Regions from separate parts of the Homo sapiens genome. Here region 1 is linked to region 2. The links are contacts of gene promoters, found by promoter capture Hi-C in human tissues and cell types (Jung and others, 2019). All regions are on one chromosome and are shown on one strand. Each heading gives the region's core, a stretch centred on a gene start or on the middle of the fragment in contact. The rest is flanking DNA. Distances are from core to core; before and after follow the strand shown. Region 1 overlaps C2orf72 (chromosome 2 open reading frame 72). Region 2 holds the start of SP140 (SP140 nuclear body protein).

The links. The method cuts DNA at HindIII sites, captures the fragments that hold promoters and counts their contacts. A contact is called where the count stands out against the background at its distance.
Region 1: a contact is called between a fragment that was not itself captured here and the fragment with the promoter of SP140 in region 2, in 1 of the 25 tissues and cell types used here (spleen).

What each region holds. Positions count from the first base shown.
Region 1 is chr2:231,041,851-231,045,741 of GRCh38, forward strand. The region is part of intron 2 of C2orf72 (chromosome 2 open reading frame 72); the gene reads left to right. Among named protein-coding and RNA genes, the nearest start is that of C2orf72, 6.3 kb to the left of the region's middle. The HindIII fragment of the contact is 5,949 bases long and covers 1-3,891 here.
Region 2 is chr2:230,223,634-230,227,474 of GRCh38, forward strand. SP140 (SP140 nuclear body protein) reads left to right here and starts at 2,103. Exons shown (of 27, transcript NM_007237.5): 1 at 2,103-2,270. The coding sequence starts at 2,212. It also overlaps a transcript of SP110 not described here. RefSeq lists enhancers at 1,983-2,192, 2,423-2,472, 2,543-2,622, 2,643-2,692. The HindIII fragment of the contact is 8,977 bases long and covers 1-3,841 here.

The DNA.
Region 1 (3,891 bases), core at 1,092-3,591, 820 kb after region 2:
TCAGAAAAGGGACCACCTTCGAGAGGCCCTGGGAGTGAGGTGCAGAAGGAAACCAGTGAGGGCCAAGGCTGAAGGGAAGAGTTTGGACCAAATCAGTGTCCCAGATGTGCAGCCTTCAGGAGTAGTGTGCCATGAGCGATTTCTGAGCAGAGAGATTGGGGTGTGTTTAGAGAGATGGACTCTAGGAGAGGGAGACACCTCGGCAGAGCCCACCTAGGAGGAGGCTGTCGTGTCCCAGGAGGGATAACAGGCGGCCTGGGCCCGACCTGGGCAGTGGGAATGGAGGGGAGAAAACTCACCCGGAGCCACTCCTAGGTGGAATCATCAGGCCACTAAATGGAAATGAGGGAGAAGGGGAAGGGGAAGACACCCCTCCATGTCAATGCTGATGTTAGAGAGATAGGAAGCGCACTGATCCCCCCCTTATCCACGTGAGATGCTTTAAGACACCTGTGGATGCCTAAAACCATGGGTAGCACCAAGCCCTACGTATACACTGTGTTTTTTACTGTACATATATACCTACGATAAAGCTTAATTTATAAACTAGGCACAGTTAAGACATTTAACAATATATAACAAAAGTTACAGGAATGAGGTATCTCTCTGAAAATATCTTATTGGACTGTACCGCAGGTAACTGAAACTGCGGATAGTGACGCCATGGATGGGGGTGGCTACAGTACTCGGAAGCATGGTGTAGCCTGCTGAATGCACACAGCCCATCCCAAAGTGCACTGAGAAGTATAGCTTTGTTACAGAAACAATGGATGGTGGTTCAAAATTAACTTTCATTGTGTCTCTCATTTAAGAAAGAAAACCATTAGTTGATGTGTCAGTCTTCATTGCTGCATAAGAAATGATCGCAAGTAGGTTGGGCATGGTGACTCATGCCTGTAATCCCAGCACTTTGGGAGGCCAAGGTGGGCAGATGACCTGAGGTCAGGAGTTCAAGCCCAGCCTGACCAACATGGTGAAACTCTATCTCTACTAAAAATACAAAATTAGCCGGGTGTGGTGGCACATGCCTGTAATCCCAGCTACTTGGGAGGCTGAGGCAGAAGAACTGCTTGGACCCCGGAGGTGGAGGTTGCAGTGAGCCAAGGTTGTGCCATTGCACTCCAGCCTAGGCAACAAGAGTGAAACTCCGTCTCAAAATAAATAAATAAATAAATAATCACAAGCTTAGCAGCTTCAAAGGCATTGATTAGGTGTCTGACTTCTTGCTGGCTGTCAGCTGGGGCTGCTCTCAGCTCCAAGAGGCCCCTGCCATTCCTTGCTCTCACAAGCCCTCTCACAAGAGATCCTCCTTCAATCAGCAGGAGAACCCCGCTCTCCAGTCTGCTAGGAGGGAGTCCACATAACCTAAGGAGTCAAGGTAGTCACTAGCCATTGCATTTGTCAGAGAGACAACCTACTCCCCAGAGTGACTAAGCTATCACATTCACAGAGCCCATCCAGACTCAAGGAAGGGCTTTATAAGGGGCCAGAATCTTGGGGGCTGTCTTAGAATTCTGCCTGTCATGTTTGAAAACTCAAAAAAAAGTACAAAAAAAAAAAAGAAAGAAAACAAATGTGAAACATCATTCACTTAATTCCATCATTCAGAGATAACTACAATTATATTTTGGGGTACGCCATTCTATTTACCTATCTCTCCTTGTGCTCTTTAAAATTTAATAAACTCACTTCTATATCATCTTCAAAATGCAGTAGATATTTAAAATGTTTAATTGCAAAAATGCTAACTTCAACCTCTCCACCATCATTTTGGATATACTTGGAAACTAAAGGAGAAAAGATGAAGCAACAGAATCATTAACCATTTTACATAAATCTTGGATAATTTCTCTCTCTGTGGTATGTACAAATCTCATATAGAAGTGAATGTATTAAAATGCAAATGGCATTTATGGACTATGTACACACATTGATAGCATATGATAAATATAGGATATCATAATTACATGCATTTATACAATCATGAGTTGCTTAATGACAGGGATATACATTCTGAAAAATACATCTTTAGGGGATTTTTGTTGTGTGAACACGATAGAGTGTACTTAGAAACCTGGATGGTATAACCTACTACATGCCTATGCTATGCGGCATAGCCTATCGTTCCTAGGCTACAAACCTGTACAGCAGGTTACTGTCCTGAATATTGTGGGCAACTGTAACACAATGGTAAGTAGCTGTGTGTCTCAACATACCTAAACATAGTAAAGGTGCAGTAAAAATATGCTATAAAAGATCAAAAAATGGTACATCTGCATAGGACACTTACCATGAATGAAGTTTTCAAGGCTGGAAGTTGCTCTGGGTGAGTCAGCGAGTGAGTGGTGAGTGAATGGGAAGACCTAGGACATTGCTGTGCACTACTGTCGACTATATAAACGCAGTACACTTAGGCTACACTACATTTATTTTAAAATATTTCTTTCTTCAATAATAAATTAACCTTAGCTTACTGTAACTTTTTTACTTTATAAGCTTTTTGATTTTTTGGCCAGGCATGATGGCGCGTGCCTGTAGACCCTGCTACTCCAGAGGCTGAGGCAGGAGGATGGCTCGGGCCCAAGAGTTCGAGGCTACAGTGATCCGTACTCCTGCCATTGCACTGCAGCCTGCACACCATAGTGAGACTGTCTCAAAACAAACAAACAGACAAACAAAAACCACCTTTTTAAATTATTAAAAGCTTTTTCACTCTTTTGTAGTAATACTTGGCTTAAAACACAAAATATTGTAGAAATGTACAAAAATATTTTCTTTCTTTATATCCTTATTTAGTAGGCTTTTTCCTATTTTAATTTTTTTTTTTTTTTTTTTTTTGCTAAAAACTAAGACACAAACATGCGCCTTAGCCTACACCTACACACAAGGTCAGGATCATCAGTATCACTGTCTTCTGCTTCCACATCTTGTCCCACTGGAAGGTCTTCAGGGACAATAACACACATGGAGCTGTCACCTCCTATGATAAACAATGCCTTCTTCTGGATACCTCTTGAAGGGCTTGCCTGAGGCAGTTTTACAATTAACTATATATATATATAAACTTTATATACGTGTGTGTGTATATATATCTTTATATATATATATATATACACACACACACACATATAAGTAGAGGGAGTACACTCTAAAATAATGTTAAAACATATAGTAGGCCGAGGCTGGCGGATCACCTGAAGTCAGGAGTTCCAGACCAGCCTGGCCCACATGGTGAAACCCCATCTCTACTAAAAATACAAAAATTAGCCAGGGCGTGGTGGCACACGCCTGTAATCTCAGCTACTCGGGAGGCTGAGGCAGGAGAACTGCTTGAACCTGGGAGGCGGAGGTTGCAGTGGGCAGAGATTTCGCCAGTGCACTCCAGCCTGGGCAACAGAGCAAGACTCCATCTCAAAAAATAATAATAATTTTATATATATAGAGAGAGAGAGAGACAGTACAGTAACATAGTCATTTCTTATTATTATCAAGTATTGTCTACTGTATATAATTGTATGTACTAGACTTTTACATGACTGGCAGCGAGTTAGGTTGTTTCCACCAGCATTGCCACAAACATGTGAGTAATGCATTGCACTGCAACATCAGGACAACTACAAGGTTACTAGGTGACAGGAATTTTTTAGCTGTGTTTCAATCTTTTTTTTTTTTTTTTTTTTTTTTTGAGACAGAGTCTAGCTCTGTCACCCAGGCTGCACTGTGCAGTGGCACGTCTTGGCTCACTGCAAGCCCCGCCTCCCAGGTTCACGCCATTCTCCTGCCTCAGCCTCCCAGGTAGCTGGGACTACAGGCTCCCGCCACCACGCCCAGCTAATTTTTTGTATTTTTAGTAGAGACGGGGTTTCACCATGTTAGACAGGATGGTCTCGA
Region 2 (3,841 bases), core at 853-3,352:
TGGTTATCTGACATAATTGGACATAAAAACAGTGAACATCCCCATTAGCGTTCAGAGTCAGGAATTTTGGAGTTGTGGGCAAATAGGGGTAAGTTGGCAAATTAAATTACAGCACTGGATTGTGATCAAGACTCTATACAATTCATTTCCCCAATTCCAGGTGTCAGATTCTAGCATGCTTAGCAAAATGAAGAGAAATCTTCCAGGTAGAATGAAAGCATTGATTTACCTTTGGGGATTATGACCTACTTGGCCTAAATCTGGATGGGGGAACAGAGCCAGGAGGCAGGCCGGAGCCTTCTGACTCCACTGGTCACGTGGCAGTAAAGGAAGACATTGGGAACCAGAGATGGTCTGATGGTCCTACATATGCCTGGCCCAGGAATCCCTTACCCAGGAGAGGTTCTGTAGTGAGCATAGGGAAAAACAAGATAGTGGGAAATAGAACTGAAATTTCAGGCTATCCTTACCTGGGCTAATGCATGGTGTTGCAAAGTAGGGCTTTCTAGTAGTAGCAGCAGTACCCCTGAAGTACCAATCTTACCACCAGTCAGCTGAGGAACACCAATGGCCTTGTGCTTATAAGCAAAAGAAGCTGGCACATTTTCAAAAATGTCCAGTTCATTGGTGTCCTGGGTCTGCCTACTGCCTAAGGGCAGAGAGAAGAGAGAGAGGGGATGCTGGAGCAGGCGGTATAGTCTGTACCAGGCCTTGTTGGAGCCCCATGGAGACTGGGAGGAGAGGACAGCTGTGTCTAACAGAAGCCCAGCATACTTTTCCTTCTTGTTTTAAAGAGGGAGGGAGAGGGAGGGAGAGAGAGGGAGAGGGAGGGAGAGGGAGGGAGAGAGAGGGAGAGAGAGGGAGACAGAGGAGAGAGAGGACAGAGAGAGAGAGAGAGAGGAGAGAGAGAGAGATACTGGAAAAGGTGTCCTCATCAGTGTTCTAGAGTTTGTCTCAACCAGATTGGTGTTTGTTCCTTTGGTAGAAAGAAAGCAGAAGTGTGGAAGGGGTAGAAATTTCTTGCACTCTGTATTTTGCAAACTTATGTATGCAAATTTCCTTGCATATGTGTAATGAACCAGAAAAAGTAGGATTCAGGAGCACATGTTTTGGAAAAATACTGCTTTGCCTCTGGCTTTTCAATCCTCACTACTGTTCTGTCACTGGCCCTGGATTCTACCCATACCCTGGCTCTCATCAGCCCCCTGTCTTTGACCCATTTTTCTGCCTGGATTTCTAGTCCTGTGGTTATATTTTTTATATTTGCCCTTTGCTTCCATTTGTTTATCACTCGACTTTATGCTGATATAGTGTGTTTTTGTAAATTGTTTCAAATCCTTTACAGAATGAGGGCTGGGTATAAATGAAAAATTGTGTGCAAACATAAATGTAATACAGCTATCCTCCTGTATCATATTGTCCTTGAAGGTCTAGATAATCTCAGCTCCAAACCCTTTCCCCATCCAGTGAGAAGGCTGTCACTCTCCTCAAGATTTCAGTGAAATGGTTGAAGCTCATTTTTTTCCCAGTCACCCCTGGCTGCTGTTGTAAAGTGCCCACATATTTGAGAAAACTTAGAATTGCACCTCATTTCTCTGCCCAACCTCAGCACTTGCCTTTGGCTGGAGGAGTTGAGAGAGTTGTCTTTTACCTCTGTCTGCTTTCATGGAGTGCTAAGAGCATCTCCCCCACTTTCTAATGCATGCTATTTCAGTTCTCCCTGGCCCCATGTCCAAACACTGGGCCTAAGCCATCCAGCCCAGGCTCACTAAGGTGCATGGCCAGCCCTGGAGCCTGACTGAAGATTTGAAATGTCTGGTCTTCACTTGTCCTTCTCAGCCACCTCAGCAAGGGGTGGGGACAAATACAGAGTTTACTTCCTCCTCATGATGCCACCTTACCTCAAAACAACTTTGATCTGCTTGAGTTGAATGACTTTTCCACCCTCTTTCCTTGGCAGGAACAAGTGACCCTGTCTTCCGTGGCCTCGTGGGGCTGGCTCTGCTCCTCCTCCCTTGACTGAGAGACGTCATGGAGATTGGGTGGAGGGAGGACTGTAGAGTTGGTGCACCCACGTCAGCTAGTTAGGCAATTTCACTTTTCTTTTCCTCTTTGACTGAGCACCGAGGGGCAGTTGGCAGCTTCACCTCAGAGCTGCAGGAAGGAACGGGGCAGTGAAAATCGAATCGGGTGTGATCCTAGGCCAAGCTCATGGCCCAGCAGGGCCAGCAGGGGCAGATGGCAAGTGGAGACAGCAATCTCAACTTCAGGTGGGTCATCGTCTCCTTTCCCGTCTGTCCTTCATCTCTGGTAGGGTTCCCTTTCATACTTGTTATTTAATGTCTACCCAGCTTCACTCTACAGGTATACAATAGAATTCAGTTACAAATAAATAACGAGGCAATCAGATTTTTTAAATTGCAGGGATTGGCTGTTGGAGAAACTCAAGGATGCCGTGACTCACATCATCTTCCTATTCTCTTACATCTGCAAATGGCTGGACTGGAGCTGTTTGAACATCATGCCTGTTCTGAGGCTTTGTGTAGGATTGGATGATTCCCCGTGACCTCTGAACCCTCTCTTCTCCCCCAGGCCTCCTTTATCCCCACTCCAAAAGACAACTCTGTCTAAAAAGGATCTTTTTAGAAGAATTAAAATCCAAACGCCTGTCTGTTGTCACACTTTCCAGGCTGTGTAGTTGGGGACCGGTTCTGCTCTGAGCCCATCTATGTGGCTCTTAGCCCTAGAATCACTTCAGGATCTCTGAATACTTGGTAGGAGGAAGTGAAAGCAGATGAGACCCAACAAAAAAGGCAAGCAGGTAGAGAGTGAGTGCTGCTTCTGCTTTTTTTATTCTTCTGTTCTGGTATTTTTTACATATCTGGTCAGAGAAGCCTGGAAATCATCTTTAAAAAATGTAAGACAATGAGACCAGTCTGACCAACGTGGAGAAACCCTGTCTTTACTAAAAATACAAAATTAGCTGGGTGTCATGGTGTATGCCTGTAATTCCAGCTACTCAGGAGGCTGAGGCAGGATAATCGCTTGAACCAGGGAGGCAGAGGTTTTGGCGAGCCAAGATCACACCATTACACTTTAGCCTGGGCAACAAGAGTGAAATTCCATCTCAAAAAAAAAAAAAAAAAAAGACAAGTACATCAATACGGTCATTTCTTCTTATCTGTGGATTCTGTATCCATGGATCTAACCAACCATGAATGCAAAATATTTTCTAAAAATTAAAAACATAAATAACAACAATAAAAAGTAATATAAAAATTTAAAATACAGTATAACTATTTGTATAGCATTTACATTGTATTAGGTATTATAAGTCTAGAGATGATTTAAAATATACAGGAGGATGTGCATAGGTTATATGTAAATACTACACCTTTTATATCAGGGACTTGAGCATCCATGGATTTTGGTATCCATGGAGGGTCCTGGAACCAATTCCCCCTGGATACCAAGGGATGACTGTACATTCTTGATAAAAATGAAAATGTGTGGAATGTAAAAATGTATGGAAACTTGTCTAATTGGGACTCTGTGCTAAGGCTACTTCTGGCGCTGGTACAGCCCCAAGAAAGCAAAAGCTATTGCTATTATCAGCAGTAGTGGTGGCACCAGACTGGTTTTCAGTGCCCAGTGCCACCACTCCCAGACAGGCATCCCTGTCATCTCTCTTTCACTTGCTCTCTAGTGAAGGGAAGATGAGCCAGCGGAGCTCAAAGTCCAGCCAGCCCATGGTCACCAAGCAGGAAGAAGACGGCACTGAGAGGTGACAATGGGCTAATGCTAACCTCAAAGAATGAGTTAGGAAGTGTTGCCTCTGCTC